2 separate regions of the Homo sapiens genome follow, and region 2 is linked to region 1. Evidence: promoter capture Hi-C in 16 types of primary human blood cells and fetal thymus (Javierre and others, 2016). All regions are on one chromosome and are shown on one strand. Each heading gives the region's core, a stretch centred on a gene start or on the middle of the fragment in contact. The rest is flanking DNA. Distances are from core to core; before and after follow the strand shown.

The links. The method cuts DNA at HindIII sites, captures the fragments that hold promoters and counts their contacts. A CHiCAGO score of 5 or more calls a contact.
Region 2: a fragment that was not itself captured here is called in contact with the fragment with the promoter of CTSC in region 1 in 1 of 17 cell types (non-activated CD4 T cells); the score reaches 6.0 in non-activated CD4 T cells.

The regions. Positions count from the first base shown.
Region 1 is chr11:88,332,764-88,339,408 of GRCh38, reverse strand. It overlaps CTSC (cathepsin C), which reads left to right and starts at 1,673. Exons shown (of 7, transcript NM_001814.6): 1 at 1,673-1,908; 2 at 4,327-4,472. The coding sequence starts at 1,737. LOC101929174 (a long non-coding RNA gene) reads right to left here and starts at 1,525. Exons shown (of 5, transcript NR_188511.1): 1 at 1,353-1,525. RefSeq lists an enhancer at 1,678-1,957. The HindIII fragment of the contact is 10,462 bases long and covers 402-6,645 here.
Region 2 is chr11:87,030,854-87,037,707 of GRCh38, reverse strand. It overlaps LOC105369422 (a long non-coding RNA gene), which reads left to right. Exons shown (of 5, transcript XR_007062827.1): 1 at 1-84. Among named protein-coding and RNA genes, the nearest start is that of TMEM135, 3.7 kb to the left of the region's middle. RefSeq lists a silencer at 1-142 and an enhancer at 1-299. The HindIII fragment of the contact is 2,330 bases long and covers 1,548-3,877 here.

The sequences.
Region 1 (6,645 bases), core at 424-2,923:
TTCAATCATTGAATAAAGACTGTTTTAAACTTTCTTTACAATTAAGTGTGTTGCTTTGATTACATTCATCAAAGAAATTTCCACCTAAACTGGCTCTTCAATATTGATGACCTAATACAAATTTAATGTTTTAACAATCAGTAACACACCTTCCTAGAGATTCAGGAAGGGAAGCTTAATCTGTCAGGGTATCTTTAAATAAATAGTGTGTTAGCTTAATTATACAATGTCAGCTTTCAATTCTAAGAAGGTATATAAAACCTAAAAGCAAGGTGTTCCCCAACCCCCCGCCACCAACCCCGCCCCAGGCTTTGGAAATTTGTGCCCCCATTGAAGAGTATTTTCACCTCTGAACTTTCAAGGACAACTCCTTTTGCCTCATTGAAACTGGCTTTCAAGCTTGGCAACCAAGATAAGAATATTAAGTACACTTATTTTAACACTCAAGGACACTTTCTGAATAAACCAGAATCTAGGGAGATATAAGTGAATAATTTGGACCTGCTCTCTTTGAATGTTTATAATCTGGTGGAAAAAAAATGGACATATGAATATTGATTTGTGACCAGTGCAAAGGGGGCAAAAATTCATATCCCAAAGAAAACGGGGACACATCAGGTCTGTCTTGTTCATCACTGTGTCCACAGGGCCTGACACCTAGTAGGCTCAGTGGGAGAAAGGAGCCCCAATTACCAACAAAAGCCAGGAAAGAACGGGAGGCTCTTACGGAAAAGGGTGATACTTAAACTGAGCAAGGAGGCACCTGGAAATAGTGCCACCTAATAATTTTTGGCGATCAGACTGACACACTAGAACGGTTCATAAGACCAGCCTTCTCCCATTGGCTAGCTTCCTTCCTCACCCTTCTCACCCTGGGCAAGCCGCTTCCTCTCTCTGGGCCTCTTGCTTTTCCTCTGTAACATAAAAGGGGTTGAGCAATATCATCTCTGAGAGCGCCATGTGTGTGCGTGCCAGAGGGAAAACCCCCACAACGCTAATACATCAAAACTGCAGGTTTGCACAAAAACTGAATTCTGCTGAATGCAAACAGGCAAACAGCATTTACCAGGAAACAAAACAAAATCAAGCACATAAAAAAGTAGGAAGAGTTGGAAAACGGAAGGAAGATAAGTTCTCAAACAGCTGGAATAGTTGATGTTAGCTAGCGAAGTTTTTCAGAGGAAAAAACAAGAAGTTGGTTATGAGGCAAGTGGACCTGAGAAAAAAGACTAAAGGGGAAGAATAGCAAGTAAAACAGAACTCCACTTGCTAGATCTCTCCCTCTGTCGCGCTCTTTCACCTGACCCACTCCCTTATTCCCCCCACACCCTTTCCTTCTCTCCCTACGTTACCGCACAGGAACGAAGTCTGGGTCATGTGCGGACCGCTTGTGGCTCTTAAATCCTCTTTTTGTCACCCTGGCCGTGCAAAATTTTGAAACGTCCCTCGGCAAAAAAAATAAAAATAAAAAAAAAAAATCTGTCCCTGGCCTCTTCCCTAGTTCTGGGTCCAGTTGCAGCCAAGTGAGGGGCAGCGCGCGCTCCCAAGTCCCCGTTTCAGAGACGCGCACGCGCCTGGCGCCCAACCCCCAATCCCCTGCTGCTCAGTGACCCCGCCCACGGGTTTCCGGGCCGGCGTAGCTATTTCAAGGCGCGCGCCTCGTGGTGGACTCACCGCTAGCCCGCAGCGCTCGGCTTCCTGGTAATTCTTCACCTCTTTTCTCAGCTCCCTGCAGCATGGGTGCTGGGCCCTCCTTGCTGCTCGCCGCCCTCCTGCTGCTTCTCTCCGGCGACGGCGCCGTGCGCTGCGACACACCTGCCAACTGCACCTATCTTGACCTGCTGGGCACCTGGGTCTTCCAGGTGGGCTCCAGCGGTTCCCAGCGCGATGTCAACTGCTCGGTTATGGGTAAGCCGCCGGCTCGGCAGTCCTCCGGGTCGTCCTTTCTGCCCTTGAGCCCCTAACGCAGCGCCACGCCAACTACCGCTTCCCCCCAGGCAGACGCTTGTGGGTGGCCAGAGCATCTTGACTGGATTCGGGGACCCTTGGGGACCTTCTTCCCCGCCAGGCTCGCGAAGTTAAAGTTCATCTGCTGAGAACTTCTAACTCCACACTTTCTTGGTTATCTTGGGGACTCAACACTTTGATCAAGAACTTTTTTATTCCTCCCGCTTAATTTTGTTTGCTTTGAGAGAGACTTGGGAACTGCAATCGTTTGGTTCTCCAGTCCGATCTGGTAGCGTTATTTTTAAAATTTATTTTTATTTTTTATTACTATTTTACTAGTGAAGATAGATGAGCTCAGAGACTCTCGAGGATATAGCATGAAGTTTTCTCTTTTTGTTAGATGGTGGGAAAGGGACTTTCTGCCCAGCGATTTTGGTTTGAGCGGGTGTTGATGAGTACTAGAAAACGGCTAGTACCACTCTGCATTGTTTCATGCATTGCAAGGAGGTAAAAATTTTTTAAAAAATTAATAACAAAGAAAACTTAACTCTGAACCTAGTAATTAGAAATGCCCAGAGTCTGCACAATGTTTGGCTCATGGAAGGCTCTCAATAAATACCTAGTGTTTGAACATACTGGAGATATTCCATATGCCTTCAGATAACATGGTTACCCCTAGAACAAAGAACCTAGTGAAGGGGGTGGGGTGGAAAAAAGACAATCACTAGTTAGAAGAGTCACACTGTGGTCTACCCAAACCCTCTTACAGCCTGTGACTTCTGCAGAGTCAGTAAAAAATCAGCTATAATTTTCTTGTCAACAGAACAAAGATTAAGTCATTTGTTACTAAAGAAATACCTTTTTAACTGACTGTATAGCATTTCATAATCCTGAACATTGTAACTTTTTTTTTTTTTTTTTTGAGAATGGAGTCTTGCTCTGTCACCCAGGCTGTAGTTCAGTGGCGGGATCTCGGCTCACTGCAACCTCCGCCTCCCGGGTTTAAGCGATTCTCCTGCCTCAGTCTCCCGAGTAGCTAGGATTACGGGCACATGCCACCACGCCCGGCTAATATTTTGTATTTTTAGTAGAGACGGGTTTCACTGTGTTAGCCAGGATGGTCTCCATCTCCTGACCTCGTGATCCGCCCGCCTCGGCCTCCCAAAGTACTGGGATTACAGGCGGGAGTCACCACGCCTGGCCTTTTTTTTTTTTTTTTTTTTAAATTTGAGTTTGAAGGTTGGGGCAGAAAGAGATCAGGATTTGCACTGCCCTGTCACATGCAATCTCCCATGTCAGAGCATTACTCTCAAACATGGAAAAACTTTAAAATACACAACTCTCCAGATGGACACAGCTGAATCATTTTCAGGAAGGCTCTGCCTATAAAATTACCTTTGGCCTTAATTCAGTAATTAAAGGCACCCACAGGTCTGAGCCCTCATCTATGAAGGTTAAACGTATCATTCCTATCAGCACTAATTGGTTTTATAGGATACAGACCTCTAGTTTGCTGAATAAACTTTGGAAGGATTCAGATTATGAGGTTCTAAACTGTAGAGCCTTTGAGGAGAAAGGTACCCCATTTCTTCTCCGAATAGATCATTTTGTGTCTTCTCCTGGGCTTAGCACATTGTCTTCCTTAGGATCTGATAGTCTGTTTATTTATCTTTTTGTTGTCATACCTTTTATTCTTGCATTTCCCACTTTTGACTAGCATTTTGCCTTTTCTCCGTTTCTGGAAGCCTGTAATTTTCAACATTCCCCATTTCTCCTTTTGTTCAGTGGAAAAATTTCTTCAGTGTTGGGATGCTCTGGAAAGGTACTGTAGTTTTGGGGGTCTCCCTGCCTGCTGGGCTGCATAGCATATCTCTCTTTTTTGAGACAAGGTCTCACTGTGTTGCCCAGGTTGGAATGCAGTTGTGCAATCATAGCTCACTGCAGCCTCCAACTCCTGGGCTCAAGCAATCCTTCCACCTCAGCTTCAGCCGCTCAAATAGCTGGGACTACAGGCAATGCACCACCATAACCAGCGAATTTTTAAAAATTATTTTTGTAGAGACAGGGTCTCACTATGTTGCCCAAACTAGTCTTGAAGTTCTGACCTCAGCCCCGCAAAGTGCTAGGATTACAGGCGTGAGCCACTGCTTCTGCTTGCATTATCTCAAATTTTTAGAGCCTAACTTCACAGTCTTGCCTCGGAGCAGGAACTGTTTGAGGCAACAAGATGGAGCCTCTGGTTTCTTCACTAGGCAGACTGTGCTCAAACTGGGTAGCATGAAAGGAAAGCAGCACAATTAAAATTGAAATTGGGGGATTCTTTCCCCTATTGAAATCCAAATAATTTTCCTTTATTGTGCTTTTTTTTTTTTTCTTTAGGACCACAAGAAAAAAAAGTAGTGGTGTACCTTCAGAAGCTGGATACAGCATATGATGACCTTGGCAATTCTGGCCATTTCACCATCATTTACAACCAAGGCTTTGAGATTGTGTTGAATGACTACAAGTGGTTTGCCTTTTTTAAGGTTAGTTTTGTTGGAAGTTGGATTTACATTTTCAATGATTTGATATCTGAAACCTCTTCTGATTAGTAGACCCTCAGAATTTTAATTTTAGATTAAGAAGATGACCGGAATTGACACCACTCTTCCCAAGAGTAGTAGTAGTTGGTATAATTTTGCCACTTTATTTAAAATTATGATTTTAGTAGGTTTACAAAATACCAGTGCTACATTTGAATATGTATAAATTATGTTTAAAATTTACATTTTGGTAAGTATGACTAAATTCTTAATTTATTTTCCTTATTACTACCACTTTATTTCTAAATGTTGCCATAGTCATTTGGCTTTGTTCTAAATCTGTAGGAAAGATAGAGAGATTACACATTTTGTTTTCTTGCAGTTACTATGCTGTCCTTCCTATCACTACCTGTTGGCTGAGGTAGTGATAGGCCTAAATGATTCATTATCTTAAATGTACTAAATATGTTGAGTAATTTTTTCTTCTAAACTAACAGAAAGAGAGAACCTAGGAGTTACTCCCTTAGGCTGGTTAAAGTGAAAGGTAGCCAAGTCAACCCAGCTTGTTTCCTTCTCTCATTAGGAAAGAACTATTGTTCATTCTCATAACACACTTTTTCCAATTGCAAACATACTCAGGGTTAAAATAGTTTAGCACAAATTGCAGCCCATTTCATTTGTTCTTCACAAGCTGGAACTTTTCTTGTAAGCTAAATATTAAATGGTTCAAGTAAATTGGATACATAAGCCTGAAACTAGGCGTTTCTCATTATACATAGAGTATAAATTAAGACAGACTTTTTCATGGTGAAAGGTTTACAGCCTTTAAAACATCTGGGAAGAAGTGGGAAAGTAGGGAATAACTCTGTTAAATATGATAAAAGACAAAGCACCAACAAAGGCCTAGTTCTAAACTTGTTATAATTTCTCATGGGAGTTGTGGTTTGTCACAAGGTTATGGCGGTCCAAGCAAGTTTACAATATTTTTTAGAATAATAACTCCCAGAAATATTTTTAAAATAAGGACCTTTCTTTAATATGGAAAAAAAAAAGATGAAATAGAGAGGAAGAGGTTGCCTTTCCTCAACTGGATTTGCTGGTGTGATATGCAGCTGGTGGAAACCAGTTTGTCCATGCTAGCTGTTGATGGCCACCAGTCCACTGAATTAGTGGAAACCCATGCTTAACCAGTTGTTAACTATTTTTAGTATCATTTCCAGATGCTACGCATTTTTTTTGTAAAAAACATACTTACAATAGTATCTATATAAATTTTTAAAATTGTAATGTATATGTGGTATATTTAACCTGAAAATAATCTTTGGTGTATACGTTGATGAGCCTAGGCCTTTGCAGACCTCTTACAGTTACTCTGTCACAGCCCTTCAAAGGTTCTTTGACTTCAGATTAAGAATCAATTGCATGTGGAATGCATGTGCAAAGGAAGAGATATTCAAGGCAATTGTTACCATGTACCATAAACCTTGTACATAATTTTTTGTCATTTTCTTTTCCTCTGTCTCTATCCCTTCTTCTTTGACACACAATAGACACCTAGTCAATTTATTACAAAAAAAATGAATGAATGAAGTGGAATTCAGTTGGGAAATAGGTTAAATAAATTATTTAGGAGATGAGGAATAGGTAAAAAGAGACAAGTACATAGTTTATTCTTTTGACTTAGAAAACTTTTGATTCTTAAATTCTGCAGAATTGGAGAAACTGGTGGGGAAACTTCTAAAATCATTATTTAATTACCAGAGATGTAATAGATATAGACAAAAGCAGTTTTCTTCTTTTATTATTTTTTCATCAGTTAGTTCTTAGCTTAAATAGTAGTCCAAAGCTGGTAGGGACAGAGGGAATTAGCTGGTGGCTGAATGAGGAATTGTATCACTTTTTGTGAATCACGGTGTAAGCACATTTGGTGTTTTGCCATTGCCTAAGAACATTAGTCACATTAGGTCAATAGAAAATCACTTTTTAAAGCCAAATAAAGTTATATGTGTTCCCAACCATGAGTTGGAAAGAATTAATATATATGCTGTTGGAGGGTAGAACCCTGCCTAATCATATGGTTCTGGATGGCATTGATCGAATCCTTATTCTTTCATTAGGAATAACAATAGAAAAAATACTCCTGCCCTACTGATTTCAGGATATGTCTATTTTAAAG
Region 2 (6,854 bases), core at 1,463-3,962, 1.3 Mb after region 1:
CGCGAGGGAGCGCAGCTCGGGGACGAGCCGCCTCCCCACCCCCGCGACGCCGTGCCCGGCTCCGGGGCGCAAGCGCTATGGCAGGTGCGCAGTAGGGGGTGGCTTGGGTCAAATTGTACTTCAGCTTCCAACTGCAAGCCAAGTAGAGCGGAGGGTAGTGGAAGAAAGGGATTAAATGTCTTTGTTGGGAGCTGGTGGAGGAAGAGGGTTGCCAGAGGAATGCCTGGGACAAACGTCCTCCCCAGCACCGGGAGCTTGCCTTCCCGAGAGTCCCAGGTAATAAACAGCTAGGGCTGCCTGCTAGTTGCAACTAACTACCCCCAAGTGCTGGGCTTTCCAAGCTCTGTGATACCTGCGAAGGCTTGAAAAGTCTCAGCTATGTTCATACCCCGACCGTGTGTGGGGAAGGGCAATAGGTCATCCTGTCCAAACCTTAGGCCACGGAGCAATCCTGTCTACAGCATCTTTGATAGGTGCTTATCAACCAAACAGCACACACAGTAGAGGCGGCAGTCGTGTGTTAGAACTCAGACCTGGCTAGGGAACTTGGCCAACAATTAGCAAGACAAGGGTCCTGTGTTGCTTGAGTCATATAACCCCTCTGTCAATCTCCTCACATGTAACAAACCTGCCAGTTTCTTTGGATTTCTAAATTCCATAGTCTCTTAAAGCAGAAACGAACTACCTTTAGAAGAATTCCATTCGAATCTTCTAGTCTTCATTCATTCATCTACAAATATTTACTGAGTCATTACTATTTACCAGGCACTGTGCTAAGGAAACAAACAGAAACAAGAGAGACAAGATTTTTATTTTCACGAAGCTAGTATTCTAGAGGGAGAAGACAGAAAATAACAAAGAAAACTGAACAAGATAATATCAGATAGGTGTAGTTGTTTGAAGAAAATAAAAGAGAAATACTCAGATGAAAAGTCCAAAACAACAATGGCAAAAAGATAAAAGTATCTTTCTCTCAGGTAAAGGTAGGCAGTCCTAGAATAAAATGGTGGCTCCATAACGATTAGGGATCCCAGCCTCTTTGTGACAGTTTGCTATGCCATCTGCTACCTGTGATTTCCACCCTAACTTAGAAAATAACATGACATCAACATGCTAGCCAGGAAGACCAGCAAAAGGGGAAGAGAGGCCGGGCGCGGTGGCTCACACCTGTAATCCTAGTACTTTGAGAGGCTGAGGCGGGTGGATCACTTGAGGTCAGGAGTTTGAGACCAGCCTGGCCAACATGGTGAAACCCTGTCTCTACTAAAAATACAAAAATTTGCCAGAAATGGTGACACGCTCCTGTAATCGTAGCTACTCAGGGACTGAGGCAGGAGAATCGCTTGAACTCAGGAGGCAGAGGTTGCAGTGGGCCAAGATCACACCACTGTTGCCTTGGCAACAGAGAGAGACTCTATCTCAAAAAAAAAAAAAAAAAAAAAACGGGGGGGCGGGGGCGGGGAGAAAAGGGCATACTTCCTGTTTTTAAAAAAACTTCCCAGAAGATCCATACAAACTACTACAACTTACGTTCCTTGGACAAAGCTTAATCACATGGCCACACTTCATTGCAAGAGAGGATGGTGAATACAATCTTTTTTAATTAATGGGACAAATGCCCAGCTAACATTTGAGGTTTTATTACTGAGCAAAATGGAAAAAACAGATATTAGAGGCAACTAGCAGTGTCTGCCATAGTTCTATGTCTCTGGCTACCCAAATATCCGGGCACACCATTCTTTCTACAGATAGACATACCTTCCCTTTTCCAAGGGAGACAACCTAAAATTCCATGCAGTTGCTGAATCCTAGCCAAAGTCCAGAATATTCCTCAGGACCAGATGCAGATCTCATGATAAAGTTATCATCCGCCTCAACACATCCAATATACAATGGTAGAATAGGAACAAGATAATCACAATTTTTTTCAAATCTCCAATTCAGAAACTAAGAAGATCAAAAACACAGCATAAACTTATCCAAAAAATTACAGAAATAGCAGTGCAGGCTTATTTTTTTTCAATAATCCATTCCTGAATATCTGTGATCCTTTCACAAGAAAATGCTGAATAGGAACTTAGTTTTAAATGGGAAAAAATAAAATGCATTACATATCAACCAAAAAATTCTTAACAAGTATTTAAAACATAGTATCAAATATTAACAAAAAATGATCATGTTAAGATGTACAATACTATACAAATAACATCTTATTCACCAAACAATTAATACGAGCTGGGCACGGTGGCTGATACCTATAATCCCAACACTTTGGGAGGCTGAGCTTGGTGGATCACCTGAGGTCATAAGTTCAAGACCAGCCTGGCCTATGGTGAAACTCCATCTCTACTAAAAATACAAAAAGTAGCCAGACATGGTGGTGGACACCTGTAATCCCAGCTACTCAGGAGGCTGAGGCAGGAGAATCACTTGAACCTGGGAGGCGGAGGTTGCAGTGAGCCGAGATGGTGCCACTACACTCCAGCCTGGGCAACAGAACAAGACTCCGTCTCAAAAAAAAAAAAATTTTTAATATGATTGTTAACTCTCAGTTGCTTCTGAATGTAATAGCACAATATAGTTTTCATGCCTGATAATAAACAATATGTTTACTATGTGGCCCAGCAATTACACATTAATAAATAAGGAAATTTTAAAATTACAATTAAAACCAGGTGGTTTCTTTTAGTTAACTGTTTTTTGTTTGTTTTGAGACATGGTCTCACTCTGCTACCCAGGCTGAAGTGCAGTGGCGCAATCACAGCTCACAGCAGCCTATATCCCCTGGGCTCAGGAGATCCTCCTGCCTCAGCCTCCTGAGTAGCTGGGACCACAGGTACGCCACCACACCTGGCTAATGTTTTTAAATTATTTGTAGGGTCTCCCTGTGTTACCCAGACTGCTCTTGAACTCCTGGGCTCAAGCTGTCCACCCACCTCAGCCTCCCAAACTGCTGGGATTACAGGTGTGCACCAACACACCTGGTCCTAATTAACTGTTAAATGGAGACTTGAAGCATAAAGAAATTTGAGAAAAAGGGGATGGTGCCAAAGGGGACAATGCTGATGAGCTGGGTGGCAAAGGGGTGATTTCAGGGAAACTCCCAAGTTCAAAAGAAAGGATACTCTATCTTTTCTAGTGCTGCTATGGAGATTCCAAAACAGGAAGGCATTGATAAATCCTCAGGGGAGATGATCTGTGCTTTAGGATGCAAAAAAAATTGCAAAATGGAGCAGTATGCAGTTAAACCAGTAGCTTACATTTGTAAATTTCTTTATATGGTATTATAAGATATAGCAGGCTGTTTTTTAAAAGAAAGCCTTCTCTTCATGCCACCATTAAGTTTAAAGATAATGTTAAACATTGCATCTGCATGGGTCATTTATTCTTTTAGGTTGGCTATGACAGTGGCTTGATTGGATACTTTCTGGGGGCTTCATTGTTTCTTCTTTTTCATTAAAAAAACGCAGGGAGGGCTTTAGGGTTCATCAACAAGGTGAAGCAAAGAGTTTCTCCAAAGAAGGTGCACAGTGGATGAAGAAAACTAATCTGGCAATTTATGATGGAATTCAAAGGCTTTGAAGAAACGCCAAGATGAAAATTGTTGCCCCTTTCTTTGTGATGGAAGAATGAAAAAAAAAAAAAAAACACAAAGTTGTTGCTCTTGTAGGATTCTAGTTTTGAAGATGTCAACGAAAAAGAATGGAAGAGCTCTTAAGATCTAATGCAGAGGATTTAACGACACTAATCTAGTTTAGATCTACATGCAGTCATTGTAGAAATAATTATCAGGCACAAGTACAATGGCAAAGTACGGCAAACTCGAAGTATGACACTGTAGTAGCTCTTGATTCCAGCAACAGTCAGTAACCAAGCTTTTCACAAAGCTACATATGATTCTGATTTTCTTTTCTTTTCTTTTCTTTTGAGACGGAGTCTTGCTGTGTCACCCAAGCTGGAGTGCAATGGGACGATCTCGGCTCACTGCAAACTCCGCCTCCTGGGCTCAAGTGATTCTTCTGCCTCACTAGCTGAGATTAGTGGCACCCACCACCACACCCGGCTAATTTCTGTATTTTTAGTAGAGACGGGGTTTCACCATGTAGTCCAGGCTGGTCCCAAACTCCCTGACCTTAGGTAATTCACCTGCCTCAGCCTCCCAAAGTGCTGGGATTACAGACATGAGCCACCATGCCCAGCCATAATTCTAATTTTCTACTAATTTTTGTTGCAACATAACTTCAGGTTTTTCCTTACGTCATTTTATTTAAAATATTGAGTTTCTAATATGTAAATATAAATTTTAATATTCAAATCTGGAGTATTAAAAGATACATATGCCCTTTCAGTCCAAGTAGGCAGTGTGTCTGCCAATACAATTCTCTTTAAGATTTTGGGGACTTCATATATATCAAATTATAATCCACTCCAATAGAAAAAAAAGCCACACTCACAAACCTCTGAGACAAACACTTTCCGTCTTGGGCTGAGAGTAAGAAAGCTGATGGAAAACACCCTTATACACTTAGAAGTGCTTTTGTCTAGCTGAAATGGTCTAGGTAAAATGGCTTTAAATCTTTGTACAGTCTTTACAAAAAATCTAAATAGCTGCACCCTGGATTGTACCTTCCCCTTAAGGCAATGCCTTAGTTGTTTCACCATCTGGAGAGGCTGGAAGTGAAAAGCAGTTTTATTTTTGAACCCAAAGTTCCCAGACTGTGTATATTTTCTCTAAATTTTGCTTAAAAATGAAATTGTTCCTTTTATATCTCACCTCTCTACATCTTATTCCACATAGGTTTTTTTTTTTTAATCAGTTGGCATTTTCAACAGTCTGTCTGGAAATTTCCTTAACTGCAAATACACCAGTTTGTTAGATATATTTTCTATTTTCTGCATTTCAGCATGCAACAGTGTTGCCAAACTTTCTGCCACTGCATAACAGGGATCCCTTTTTCTCCAGCCTTTCCTAACAGTTTCCTCCCTTCAAGCCTTCAAAGATTGTAGAAAAAACTCTCAAGTGGCCTTACAAAATATTCAGGTACATACACTGTCTAGAATTCTCAGCATCTATATTAGTTTGATGTTACCAGTACTTGGAAGCTACAGCTAAGGACACCATTCTCTCCAAACCCCTACCACTCCAACCACAGAATGTAAAAGTAAAAGATACTTTTGGAGGCTGAGGTGGGAGGATCACGAGGTCGGGAGATCGAGACCATCCTGGCTAACACAGTGAAACCCTGTCTCTACTAAAAATACAAAACAAATTAGCCGGGCATGGTGGCAGGCGCCTGTAGTCCCAGCTACTTGGGAGGCTGAGGCAGGAGAATGGCGTGAACCCAGGAAGCGGAGCTTGCAGTGAGCCGAGATGGTGCCACTGCACTCCAGCCTGGACAACAGAGCAAGACTCCATCTCAAATAAATAAATAAATAAATAAATAAATAATAAAAAAGTAAAAGATTTATGATTATTCTTTGAGAGGAAAAACACAAAATCAACATGTAGATGTGTACAAGGAATGCTTTAGAGGCCAGCCACATCTCTCTAAAAACAGTAGACTTATGCAATAACATATCTGTAGAAGACAAGTGTATTGATAGAATTGGAAGAAAAAAAAACGAGGAGCCCCCTGAGGCAATTCAGGTGCATGCCTGGGAATGAGAACTGCAGCCCAGGGACCTCAGGAATTAACTATGAAATGGGATGCATAGCTTCTCCTGGACAGATGTCATTAAATAACTGACTCATCTAACTAATGTTTTCTTTCTGAGAATAAAACAAACTTTTATTACAGTTTGGCTTCCCATGCAGGTCTGTCTTGAGAGACAGAATGGTTATATATTAGGTAACAGATATCCTAGTTTGTATGACAGGTTTTAATTTTCTATTGTTATTTAATAAATTGGCAGCTTGATTTATGCACTCATTTATAAGCTTGTTTTATATCACTTAGCCTGAGAAAGGAAGAGCCTCCCTGATATGCTTCCAAAGCCAGGTTTTTTACCCTGGTTGTTTGTGGCAATAAATTCTGTATTAGCCAAGAATGGTTAGGCTATGCCGAGATACCACATACACTCTAAATCTCAGAGAATTTAAAATAAGAAAGATTTATTTTGTGTTTACACAAACTCCAAAGCAGACTGGCCAGTTCTTCAGGGCAAGGGCAACCAGTGATTCAGGAATATAGCCTCTTCCATCTGCACTGGGCCTTCGTCAGTGGTCACTTTTTTTAATTTTTTCCTTGCTTCTTTGATTTTTCATGTGTGCATAATTTTTAGTTCTTTTGCATAGCAGCATGCACAAAATTTAAGTGTACAGCTTGATGAATTTTTAAATTTGCCTTTACTGAGACTACTATTTGCCCTGAGACTGCTATGCAGATTAAAAAAAAGTATTTCCATCACCCCAGAAGGCTCTTTAGTGCCCCTTCCCAGTAAATACACCTGCAAACAGAGGTAACCACTATTCTCACTTCTAGCATCATAGCTTCATTTTGCCTGTTCCTAAAGCTTATAGTAACAAATGCATACGTTGAATATTTTTTGTGTCTGGCTTCCTTCACTCAAGATCTTATGCATGTTGTCGTATGTAGCTATAGTTCATTCATTTTTATTGCTATATTGGGTCTATTGTATGAATATAGCACAATTTTTTCATTTGAGGACATTTGTGTTGTTGCATGTTTGAACCTACTATGAATTACCCAGCAAGGGACATTCTTTTACTTGACTTTTGTAGACGTATGCTTTTGTTTTTCTTGAGCATATACCTAAGAGTAGATGTGCTACGTCATGGGGCCAGCATACATTTAACTTTCGCAGATACCAATCACTGCTTTCACTTTTAAGGG